Linked DNA regions of Homo sapiens: regions 1 and 2 are each linked to region 3. The links are contacts of gene promoters, found by promoter capture Hi-C in human tissues and cell types (Jung and others, 2019). All regions are on one chromosome and are shown on one strand. Each heading gives the region's core, a stretch centred on a gene start or on the middle of the fragment in contact. The rest is flanking DNA. Distances are from core to core; before and after follow the strand shown. Region 1 overlaps LOC105373790 (a long non-coding RNA gene). Region 2 has its middle 51 kb from the start of DIRC1. Region 3 holds the start of COL3A1 (collagen type III alpha 1 chain).

Region 1 (4,216 bases), core at 1,190-3,689, 250 kb after region 3:
CAGATGTTATGTCTGTCTCTGTGTGTTTTGTGAATATTGTCATGTTTCTGCAGTGAGAAGAAAGGATAAGTTTCTTCTACTGACATTCAGAGGGCTGGTGCCAGTGTTAACTCTAATTTCATCATTTCTATCTGATTGCCACTGTCAGTACCTCATATTACTAAGTCACCAACTGAGAAGAGTTCTTATTGCCAGCAAATGGCCACGATGTAGAATAATCCATACACAGTGGGTTTATCCTGAAGTAATCTTAGAAATATTTTTGGCTGCTGAAGATACTGAATCTTTACCCTGCAATAAACTATGTTAGCTACTCTGTTTCTGAACTGCTTCACATACCTCAGAGCAAAGGACTAACCACCTCAATATTCAGATATCAATTTTAGGGGCAGATTTTATATGATGACATGAAGGCTGTGAAATGTGAAGACATTTATTTTACCAAAGTTTGAAATTTATCTTGTATTTGGGCTTTTTTAAATTATAATTTTACTTTTAAAAAAAATCTGCATTAAACACTTTCATGTACATAGTAGGCACATACTAGGAATTAAAATCATGGTAAATAAATTTAATTGAACACACTTTGTGTTACTCTTTCTGTGAAATCCTTGGAGAATGTTATGCTTCCTTTAAGCATTAGTGCTGGTACCTTGAAAGGTTACAGTTGAAATAATATTTTGAAAGAAAACATCCAGGCATTCAGAATGAGCCAAAATGCTTTTGTCAGTCAGGTGGGACTCAGACTGAAATTCTTTGTCCACAACATGACACTACCAAAACCAAAGCTCATGGTGTGGACAGCCAATTAACATTTAAGTTGGCCCAAGAGAAAAGACAAAACTCTTTAACTTGCAGGATAATCCATTCCATTTATTGCTTATGAAGAACTACAATGATTTGCCTAATATAAACAACATAAACATTGAAAATATTATCTATTTTAATAGAAATGTTGCAATACAAACATAATTTATATCTGATGAACATGATATAGTTCCTTAGCATAAGTAGCTCTTATATAAAGCCTGACAAACAGGAGTGAGGCACTAAGTGATCATGTTCAAGCTTGTCCTGTAACCGAACAAATCATCCAAAGAAGTGCTATCTTTCTCTACCTCACTGAAGGGGGCGTAAATATGATTGTATTTAGTACACTCATGTGGATATGTAGTGGAAACATTTGCACATATCTAGCCTACTCTAGATTCCTTTATGACTTCGTGTTACTAGAAAACAACACAAAAAAACTAGAGGTGCAGTTAAGAAACTGAATTAATCAAAACTTTTTTCTCTATTCTCTCTTACCTCTCTCTCTCTCTCTCTCTTTGTCCTTCCTTGCTTTAACTGATCTTTTTGTGGTCACAGATGTTACTAATGATGCATAAATTGCTGGACCCAATGTAAAAAATATCTCACAAAAGAAATTCTATTCTTTTAGTGTTATTGCCAGATATAAATTGATTCCATGCTATGTGGCCACCATTCTTCTTGATTCTGTTTCTGTCAGCCCAGAAATGTATTCTCTTGCATTGACATTTGATGTTTTAGTTCTTCTCGCTATTTAATATGACATAATTTATTTTATTGTGGGGAGGGGGTGAGACAGAAAGTAGGTTTACCTAACTTCTCAGAAAATTAAAAATAGGAAATGATCATTTAAATGCCTCACTTTGCTTTATTTTTAAATTTGTCTATATTTTAACTCATTTCTAATAGTCCAGTGAGATCTTTTAAAATATACTTTAAAATATATTTTGATAATTAACAGATATTAAATGTTCAGATAGTATTTTTTAAAATTATAATTACAAGAAAATTGTCACAAAGTCTTCTCAAAACTAAAATTTCACCTGTTGAGCATTCCCTAAATAATTTTTAGATTACGAAGTGATTACAACTGACTTGATACTTAAGCAAAACTCTAGTAAGTATGTCTACTCCCTGAATGTTTTCATGCGATAGATTCCTTTCTCATGAGTCATACATTTTGGGCATCCTACTGAAAGATAAGTTACAAAAACTTTTTAAGTGGTTAATTTGTCATTTTAATGTATGTATTTTAAATAGGTTGAAACCAAGAAAAAAAAATGTTAAAATATAAGATATTGGGTATGCACCCTTATTTATTTATTCACTGTGAGTATGCTGTGTAAGGCAAGATCATGATGCCTTCTCCAGATACTTGAAGGAAGACTTAAGTGATCTCACAGACTTTCGCTTCTTTATATTATTTTATCCCCAGATGATGTAGGTCATACTTTAAAAGATAGTGGGAATTTGGAATGTGATGATTTCCAAAGCATCCCTCCCACTCCCAAAAGTATCTTTATTTCTCTTCATATTATTCCAGAATATTTATTTTAAAGGAATTTCAAAACACATGGAAACATTTTCAGAAATGTTACATAGACAACACTAATAAGGATGTCATTAAAAATCGCATCTTTTTACACTAGTATGTTAAGATCTGTTCATTGTTCATGGTTGTTGAGAAGTTAATGCAAAGAAAAGTTGAATACAGATTACACTTTTTTGGTATCCAGGTTGTGCAATTTTACCTTATTTCTTCCAATTTTCTCCTCCAGTGGAAGACTTCAGGACTATAGATAGACCTGCCAGCAACCCAGAATATAAGTTTCTAATTTGCGTGTATGTTAAGCACAAAGAAAGTAGGTGATATGGCAAATGTATTTGAAAATAATGAGCAATTTAGCAGAAGCAAAAGACACAAAAAGGATCATTTTATGTGTCAAAAGCACCTAGTAAATAGAGAAATCCAGTGCTTTTTTTGGTTAAATGGAGGTATATATCTAGCACATATTAAAAGAGATCACTGCAATGACACCTTCGTTTTGAGTCTATCTAAACTGTAACTTTAAATGTATGCTAATGATTCCAATTTCAATGGTTTGAGAGACTAACTCAAAGTGGGAGTGATTTACTATCTTTATTTTTAGTAGCTTTATTGAAGTATAATTTATATACAAAATTACACTTATTTAATGTGTACAATTTGATGAGTTTGGGCATATGTATACACCCATGAAATCATCACCAGGATCAAGATAATAGACATATTCATCACCACAAAAAGGTTTTGTGTTCCATTGATTTCTGTTTGTTTGTAATAAGAACACTTAACATGAGATCTACTCTCAACATATTTTTAAGTGTACCATACAGCATTGTTGCCTATAAGCATTATGCAGTACAGCAGAACTCTGGAACTAATTTATCTTGCACAACTGAAACTTTATATGAATCGAACAACTCCTCAATTTCCATTTTTCCTTCCCCCACCCCATAGTAACTATTGTTCTTCAGTTTGACTATTCTAGGTGCCTCATATAGGTGGAATCACGCAGTATTTGTCCTTATGGGCCTGGCCTTTTTCACTTACCATAATGTCCTTTAAATTCATCCACATTGTTGCAAATGGAAGGATTTTTTTCTTTTTAGAGTTGAGTAATATTCCACTGTATGTATATACCATATTCTCTCTGTCCATTCATCTGCTGATGGATATTTGGGTTGTGTCCATAATTTGGCTGCTGTGAATAGTGTTGCAATAAACATGGGAGTGATGATGTCTCTGCAAGCTTATGATTTCAATTCTTTGGGCTATATATTCAAGAGTAAGATTGCTGGATCATATAGTAGTTCCATTTTTAATTTTTTGAGGAACCTCCTTACTGTTTTCCATAGTGGCTGCACATTTACAGTCCTAACAACAGTGTAGAAGAGGTTCCATTTCTCCACAGAATTGCCAACACATGTTATTTCTCCTTCTTCTTTTTCTTCTTCTTCTGATGCTGCTGCCTCTTCTTATTCTTTGGCCTCCCAAAGTGCTGGGATTACAGGTGTGAGCTGCTACACCTGGTGTGCAGTTTTTTAACAGCATAATTAGATAAGCAGGCATTGTCAGAGGGCAGTATCTAGAGAAGTTATATCCTTCTTCTCTTTCTCCTTCTCCTTCTCCTTTTCCTTCTTCTTCTTCCCATCCTAACAAGTGTGAGGTGATATTTATGAATTTGATTTGCATTTCCCTGATATTTAGTGATATTGACCATCCAATCATACACCTGGTCACCATTTGCATGTCTTTGTTATAGAAACCAGTTGTACGACATGATACAGGTAAATTTCTAATAACGGAGTTCAATGTAAAGATAGTTAAAGCAACATAAGCTTATATGATATGAAGGCAATTAAC
Region 2 (4,334 bases), core at 1,654-4,153, 130 kb after region 3:
TTCTTAGGAGGTTTTTGACTAGTTGTTCAGTCTATTTATTAATATTTGTTATTGGTCTATTTAGACTTTCTATTTATTCTTAACTTGATCTTGGTAGGTTGTATTTTTCTAGGAATTTCTCTCTTTCCTCTACATTTTTCAATTTGTTGGCATACAATTGTTCATAATAGTTTCTAATGATTCTTTTTATTTCTGAGACATCTATTGCAATGTCTTTACTTTCATTTATTTTATTTACTTAAGTCTATGTCTTGTTTCTTAGGCTAGTTAAGAGTTTGTCAATTTTTTAAAAACTATTAGTTTTATTGATTCTTTCTATGGTTTTTCTGTTCTTTATTTGACATAATTATCTCCTTATTTTTATCATTTATTTTCTTTATCTGATTTTGGGTTTAGTTTATTCTTCTTATTGTAGTTCCTAGAGGTTTAATGTTAGACTATTTAACTGGGATCTCTCTTCATTTTTTTTTTGTTGTTGTTGTTGTTGTTTTCACTGCTTCAAGTTACAGATTACAAATGTATCTTTTCACTTATGGGTGGTTTTCTTGGTATAGTTTGGTTTTTAGCTATTTACCACTCTAAATTGGTCTGCTAAATAGAGAAAACATAGTTTCAACTCAAATCATAAGCAAAGGGATAATTTTCTTTTTTCCTTTTTTTTTTTTTTTTTGAGACAGAGTCTTGCTCTGTCACCCAGGCTAGAGTATAGTGGCACAATCTCGGCTCACTGCAGTCTTTGCCTCCTGGTTCAAGTGATTCCTCTGACCCAGCCTCCTGAGTAGCTGGGATTACAGACACGTACCACCACGACCAGCTAATTTTTGTATTTTTAGTAGAGACAGGGTTTCTTCATGTTGGCCAGGCTGGTCTCAAACTCCTGACCTCAAGTGATCCCCCCAACTCGGCCTCCAAAGTGCTGGAATTACAGATGTGAGCCACTGTGCCTGGCTGATAATTTTCTTAATACATATAGAGCTTTTCCAAATCAATGAGAAAAAGAACAACAGCTATTTAGAAAAATGAGCAAAGAATATGAATAGATAGGTCACAGATAAGGAACTACAAATGACTCTTGTAAATGTGAAGACACACCCTAATTATTAGTGGAGAAACACATGTTGAAGTTATTATATAACTTTTTTCTATGACAAAAATGGATATTTGTCAATATTCACTTCTGTTTTTTTTTCTTTTTTAAATTATACTTTAAGTTCTGGGATACATGTGCAGAACATGCAGGTGTTACATAGGTATACATGTGCCATAATGGTTTGCTGCACCCATTAAACCATCATCTGCATTAGGCATTTCTCCTAATGCTATCCCTCCCCTAGACCTCTACCCCCCAACAGGCCCCAGTATGTGATGTTCCCTTCCTTGTGTCCATGTGTTCTCACTGTTCAACTCCTACTTACAAGTGATAATGTGGTGTTTAGTTTTCTATTCCTGTGTTAGTGTGCTGCGAATGATGGTTTCCAGCTTCATCCATGTCCCTGCAAAGGACATGAATGCATCCTTTTTTATGGCTGCACAGTATTCCATGGTGTATATGTGCCACATTTTCTTTATCCAGTCTATCATTGATGGGCATTTGGATTAGTTCTAACTCTTTGCTATTTTGAATAGTGCTGCAATAAATATACATGTGCACATGTCTTTATAATAGAATAATTTATAATCCTACTTCTGTCAATTTGTCAAGCTCATTCTCCATCCAGTTTTGTTCCCTTGCTGGCAAGGAGTCGTGATCCTTTGGAGAAGAGGCATTTCCATTTTTAGAATTTTCAGCCTTTTTATGCTGTTTTTTCCTCATCTTGATGGATTTATCTACCTTTGGTCTTTGATGTTGGTGACCTTCAGATGAGGTTTTTGAGTGGACGTCCTTTTTGTTGATGTTGATGTGATTCCTTTCTGTTTGTTAGTTTCCCTTCTAACAGTCAGGCCCCTCTGCTGCAGTTCTGCTGGAGTTTGCTGCGAGTCCACTCCAGACGGTGTTTGCCTGGGTATCACCAGTGGAGGCTGCAGAACAGGAAAGAATTTTACCTGTTCCTTCCTCTGGAAGCTTCATCCCAGTGGGGCACCCACAAGATGCCAGCCGGAGCTCTCCTGTATGAGGTGTCTGTCGACCCCTGCTGGGAGATGTCTCCCAGTCAGGTGGCCCAGGGTTAAGGGACCCACTTGAGGAGGGAGTCTGTCCCTTTGCAGAGCTTGAGCACTGCTTTGGGAGATCTGCTGCTCTCTTCAGAGCTGGCAGGCAGGAACGTTTAAGTCTGCTGAAGCTGTGCCCACAGCCATCCCATCCCTTCCCCCAGGTGCTCTGTCTCAGGAAGATGGGAATTTTATCTATAAGCCCCTGACTGGGTCTGCTGCTTTTCTTTCAGAGATGCCCTGCCCAGAGAGGAGGAATTTAGAGAGGCAGTCTGGCTATAGCAGCTTTGCTGAGCTGCAGTGGGCTCCGCCCAATTCAAACTTCCTGGTGGGTTTGTTTACACTGTGAGGGGAAAACAGCTTACTTAAGCCTCAGTAATGGTAAATGCCCCTCCCACCACCAAGCTTGAGTGTCCCAGGTTGACTTCAGACTGCTGTACTGGCAGTGAGAATTTCAAACCAGTGGATCTTAGCTTGCTGGGCTCCATGGGAGTGGGATCTGCTGAGCTAGGCCACTTGGCTCCCTGGCTTCAGCTCCCTTTCTAGGGGAGTGAACGGTTCTGTCTCACTAATGTTCCAGGCATCATTGTGGTATGAAAAAAAACTCCTGCTGCTAGCTCGGTGTCTGCCCAAATGGCTGCCAACTTTTGTGCTTGAAATCCAGGGCCCTGGTGGTGTAAGCACCTGAGGCAATCTCCAGGCCTGTGGGTAGCAAAGACCATGGGAAAAGTATAGTATCTGGGCTGGAATGCACCATTTCACATGGCACAGTCCCTCAAGGCTTCCCTTGGCTAGATGATGGAGTTCCCCGACCTCTTGCGCTTCCCAGGTGAGGTGACACCCCATCCTACTTCAGCTCACCCTCTGTGGGCTACACCCAACTGTCTAACCATTCCCAGTGAGATGAGCCAGGTACCTCAGTTGGAAATGCAGAAATTACCCCCTTCTGCCTTAATCTCGCTGGGAGCTGCAGACCAGAGCTGTTCCTATTTGGCCATTTTGCCTACCACCTTCCTCTACATTTTTAATGTAGGCATTTGTTGTTATAAACTTTCTTTCTTTTCTTTTTTTTTTTTTTTTTTTGAGATGGAGTCTCACTCTGTTGCCCAAGCTGGAGTGCAGTGGCGAGATCTCAGCTCACTTCAAACTCTGCCTCCAAGGTTCAAGCAATTCTTGTGCCTTAGCCTCCTAAGTAGCTGGGATTACTGGCACCCACCATGATGCCCGGCTAATTTTTTGTATTTTTAGTACAGATGGCATTTCCCCATGTTGATCAGGCTGATCTTGAACTTCTGATCTTAGATTATCCACTCTCCTCAGCCTCCCAAAGTGCTGGGATTATAGGCATGAGCCACTGCGCTCAGCCTGTTGTTATAAACTTTCTTTTTAGGTCTGTTTTTGAAGCACATGATGGGTTTTGGAATGTTGTGTTTCCATTGCCATTTGTCTCATGACATTTGGCTCAATTTCCTCTTTGAGCCATTGGTTGTTTAGGAGCATGTTGTTTAATTTTCAAATATTTGTAATTTTCTAAGATTCCTACTGATATTGATTTCCAGTTTTATACTATTGTGTTCTGAAATGATACTAGACATTATTTTAATCTTCTTAAATATTCATGGTCTAACATATGGTCTATACTGGAGAATATTTCACATGTGCTAGAGAAAAATGTGCATTCTGCTGCTGTTGGGTGAAAAGTTATGTGTATGTCTGTGCTATGGATTAAATATGTTCTGCCAAAGTTTTTAAGATTTTGTGTTGGAAATCTAATTCCCAATGTAACAGTGTTGAGAGGTGGGACCTTTAAGTGATGATTAAGTCACAAAGGCTTTCCCCTCATGAATGGGTTAAGTTGTAATCAGAGGAGTCAGAGTCTTATTGTGGGATTGGGCTCCTGATGAAAGAATGAGTTCAGCCCCTTTCCTCTCTAATGTATGCACATGTTCTCTTGCCTTCTGCCTTCTGCCATGGAATGATGTAGCAAGAAGCCTCTCATCAGATGCACGCCCATCAGCCTTGTACTTTCCAGCCTCTAGAACTGTAAGAAATAGATCTCTGTTCTTTCTAAGTTACCCAGTCTCAGGTATTCAGTTATAGGAGCAAAAAAATGGACTAGGACATTCTGTTAGGTCCATTTGGTCAAACGGGCAATTCAAAATTAGAATTTTCTTATTTTTTTTGTC
Region 3 (4,033 bases), core at 1,186-3,685:
AAACAGACTATGTTTCTCCATTGGTGGATTAAAACACATGAATTAAATACAATGTTCACAAATTTGTAAGACGACCAAAATTCTTTTTGAGGACTTGTTTGTATCCAGAAAATGCCTGTGAGTGAACTAGAAGTGAGTGTTCATTAGAGCTGTGCCGTCTCTGAAGTTATGAGGGCATATATAAGAAACCCCACCCCAGAACTTTATGACAGCTCTCAGTGTGCTGTATATTCAGATACCTCCTGTAACTTTTCCAAAGCTTATCTAATAGCAGAATTTCCTTGTAAAACCCACAGGGAACATAAGATGTACTGTCTTAAGTCACTTCAACTTTACTTTTACTCATGACAAAAAAAATAGGCTGAACAGTTCTCTTTCAACTCTTTTTGAGCTTAAGAACACACAAACACATATCAGCAAAATTTTATACTTATTGATTATTTTTTGCATCTAAAGAGAAAGAGGGAAATAAACAGAACTTAATGTGATGTCAAGGTACTGTAAGTGGCAAACACCCCCCCACTAAAGTTGGATTGGGAAGAAAAATAGCCACAGTGCTTATAAAAAGCTTGCAACCACGAGGCAACTACAAATATGTTGCAATTTTTTGAGCTAAAACCCCTAAGTTTGTAGTCTTTTCAATAAATGGTTGGTGGGGGATAGTAGTCATTTGGTATCCTAAAAAAGGACTGTGAGTTGTAGCATCTCCTGGGAAGAGCAGGATAGGGAGGAAAAGGGGAGAGGAATGAGAAAGGAAGAAGGATTGAGAGTTCAGGGGAAAGAAAGGGTGAGGAGGCAAGGAGAGAGAGAACTAAAAAAAAGAAATGGAGGCATAAGGAGGCCACATGGGGAGTAGGGAGGGAGTAACAGGCAGGGAAGACAGAGGAGGAGAGAGGAGTAGATATGGGCTTGCCTAGGAAGGGGTGGGGTGATGAGTGAAGAGAAGTCTAAAGGAGCCAAAAGGGGTGGAGAGAGATAAGGAGGAGGGCAAAGCGAAGGAGAGGAGGGGTAAGGAGGAGAGGAAATTAAGGGAACAAGGAAAATGGGTGTTTCTTTTCTTTTGTGTCCATGGGCTGAATATAACTGAAGACATTTCATTGTATATCTACCCCTCCCCTCATACACACATTTACATGTATTAGCTATGAGGACAACAAATACATTTGATATTACAAACAAAAACCAAATTTTCATGCAGTGTCCTTTGCAAAATCTATATGTTTAAATGTAACCATGTTTAGTTATGTGCAATAAAAATTGTCTAATAATTTCTCCTAGCTATCTTTACATTTAGCACTTAAATATTTATTTCTATGGAAGTTTGTATTCCAATTTGTTCAGCATTTTCATGACTATGGTAAATAAAAGAATATTTTCACATAAATAATGAGACAAATGTGTTTTTAGGGGAAATTAGAATATGAAAAACATTACATGCAATTATTAGAAAATATAGCAAAACAGCTTTCTGAAGTCAAACAGTACTAGTATCTTTACCTTGTTTGCAGCAAAGTCAAACCTCCTGTTGAAACATTTTAAAAAATATTTTCTTCATTAATGCGAATGTGGTTAAAACGTAGAATATGTGGAAAATATTAGTCCCTTAATATCAAGCTACTAGAAAAGATGAATTAATCAATCATTCTTGAAACAAAATAAAAACAGGAATAATAAAATATTTTAGCAGTTTGATCCCTTTGAAGAATGTTTATAGGTATCTTGTAGCCATTTTACAGAAATATATTCAATGATTCTGATAATGCGTAGAATCTTCCTTTAGACTGTTCTTAATCCATGATATTTGAAAGGCATTCTTATTCAGAAAACAATGCTCAATATTCTAACCTTACAAAGAATCCAGCAGACAAAGAGGAACATAAAATTATTGCAAGAGACCAATAACTTCCAGACTGCCTGGGGAAGTATTCCAAGATGTTAACAATCCAGGAGGGAAAAATTTTAAAGCCATTTTTAAAAGTTTCCAGTGCCTTTAACATGAAAACAAGTTAGTACAAGAACATCTTATCTTAACCACAGAACTCTTAAAAACACACATAACGCGATTATTTTTCAAGTAATGTAAAAAGCACAGCCATGGTCAGTTCAACGTTTCACAATCTGGAGCTTATAGAGGAAATTATCTTGAATCAGGCAACTGATTTTCCCCTTTACACCCCTCTTTGTGAGGAGAAGAAAGACAAAAATCCCATAAAGTTTCTTGAAATCAGTACCTACTCACCTTCCTGTTGTGCCAAAATAATAGTGGGATGAAGCAGAGCGAGAAGTAGCCAGCTCCCCTTTTGCACAAAGCTCATCATGTCTAAATATCAGACATGAGACTCTTTGTGCAAAAAGGAGAAAAGAAAAGCAGTTCAAAGTAGCACCATCAAGTTGTTCCCTGCCCTTCAGCACCGGGCCCGTCATAAAACTCAGCCACTGAGATTCCTTTGCTTTGGCCTTAAATAGGAAAAAGTTTGGCTTCCCTCACTTTCCAGCCCCTTTCTGAAATATGAGAGCCGCACCCATCCCCTCAGCAGTAAAAGAAATGATAAATATTTCTTTTTCCCTTATAGAAGACACAACCCACAGTAAGAAAAAGAGCACATCTGGAGTTTGTATGCATCTGCTTATGTAAAAGTTTTTTTACATATTTCACTCTTACATATATGTTTGTATAACTTAGGAACGTATAGAAATGCTCTGCCTTGTTTTAATACATACAATGTAAATGCATACATTTTTATTTCCCCTTATGAAGTTAACAACTGCATAATTTTGAAAAACTGCTTGATGCCCATTTATCTAGTATGTCTAATTTACAGAACTGATCTTCCTAGAAGATTTTTATGTTGGGATTTTGCCAGAAGTAATCCTAACTCAATTTAAATAGGAGACTGTAAGAGACTCACGGAAAGAAATGCCACCGTATGCCCCTTCGACTCATCCACCCACCCTGGGTCCTAGAAGTTAAGTTTCAGGCAAATATCAAAAGACAAAGTATTTCAGCAATGTTTGAATGGCTTCCTAAAAGTTAGATACTTATCTATAGCTGTTTCCATTTCTCACAAATTTCTTTAGCAAGCCAGAGTGCTTTCTTGTGAGATTTCCAATTTTTATGCTGCCTGGGAAAGACAGAGCAGATTTTTCTAGAGAAAAATTCAGCCTTTTCATGACATAACTTTTTAGGAAACTGGAAGAGAAAGAGTTTATCACATAGAATAGCAAAAGAGTACCAGAGAAAGTGGTCATTTTTTCTGCATTACTCTAAAGATTAGTATAAATATTTCTAATTTAGACTTTTATGTGTATACTTTCCAGATCCTCATCCACAAAACTTTCCAATGTATTTCTGGATCTATCTAAGCAGTAATTTTTGTGTCATATTTGAAAGAGGGGCAAATACCATTTATAGGTCTTTGATAAATCTCTGCAGGAAAAATATGCTTGTCCACAGTATAAGGCTATATCTGGCAATGGAGATATCTCTTTACACCCTAATCATCAGTTCATAGTTAGTTCATCTATCTCTATAATCTACGGTGGACATTTCAATTCTAATCAAGGTCACTTGAACTAATTTTCTTCACCTTCACCTAAACATGTCCGTCTCTATGCCTGTGCACATAAAATTCTCCCCATTTCACACCAATTAATGGAAGTCACTTCCTTATGCCTCAATGCAAAACTTTCCTCCTTAAGTAAATTACCTCCTTTAAACTAATTTTCATCTTTCTCTTTCTTCTAATTTGTGTTACTAAATTTTCACTCAACTCATGTCATATGTATATTCCCAGGTGTACATGAATCCTGTAAGCATGGACAGTGGCAAACTTGCTTTCTTGTTTCTTGCATCTTTTTTTTTTTTTTTTTTGCGACGGGGTCGCCCTCTCTCGCCCAGGCTAGACTGCAGTGGCGCAATCTCGGCTCACGGCAAGCTCCGCCTCCCGGGTTCACGCCATTCTCCTGCCTCAGCCTCCCGAGTAGCTGGGACTACAGGCGCCCGCCACTACGCCTGGTTAATTTTTTGTATTTT

Evidence for each region. The method cuts DNA at HindIII sites, captures the fragments that hold promoters and counts their contacts. A contact is called where the count stands out against the background at its distance.
Region 1: a fragment that was not itself captured here is called in contact with the fragment with the promoter of COL3A1 in region 3 in 4 of the 25 tissues and cell types used here (H1 embryonic stem cells, IMR-90 fibroblasts, bladder and 1 more).
Region 2: a fragment that was not itself captured here is called in contact with the fragment with the promoter of COL3A1 in region 3 in 4 of the 25 tissues and cell types used here (IMR-90 fibroblasts, bladder, mesenchymal stem cells and 1 more).

Annotation. Positions count from the first base shown.
Region 1 is chr2:188,723,941-188,728,156 of GRCh38, reverse strand. The region is part of intron 2 of LOC105373790 (a long non-coding RNA gene); the gene reads right to left. Among named protein-coding and RNA genes, the nearest start is that of DIRC1, 64 kb to the left of the region's middle. The HindIII fragment of the contact is 3,898 bases long and covers 491-4,216 here.
Region 2 is chr2:188,839,143-188,843,476 of GRCh38, reverse strand. No RefSeq gene overlaps it. Among named protein-coding and RNA genes, the nearest start is that of DIRC1, 51 kb to the right of the region's middle. The HindIII fragment of the contact is 4,294 bases long and covers 757-4,334 here.
Region 3 is chr2:188,972,775-188,976,807 of GRCh38, reverse strand. It overlaps COL3A1 (collagen type III alpha 1 chain), which reads right to left and starts at 2,435. Exons shown (of 51, transcript NM_000090.4): 1 at 2,240-2,435. The coding sequence starts at 2,318. All of the region lies in intron 1 of LOC105373791 (a long non-coding RNA gene), which reads left to right. The HindIII fragment of the contact is 6,513 bases long and covers 415-4,033 here.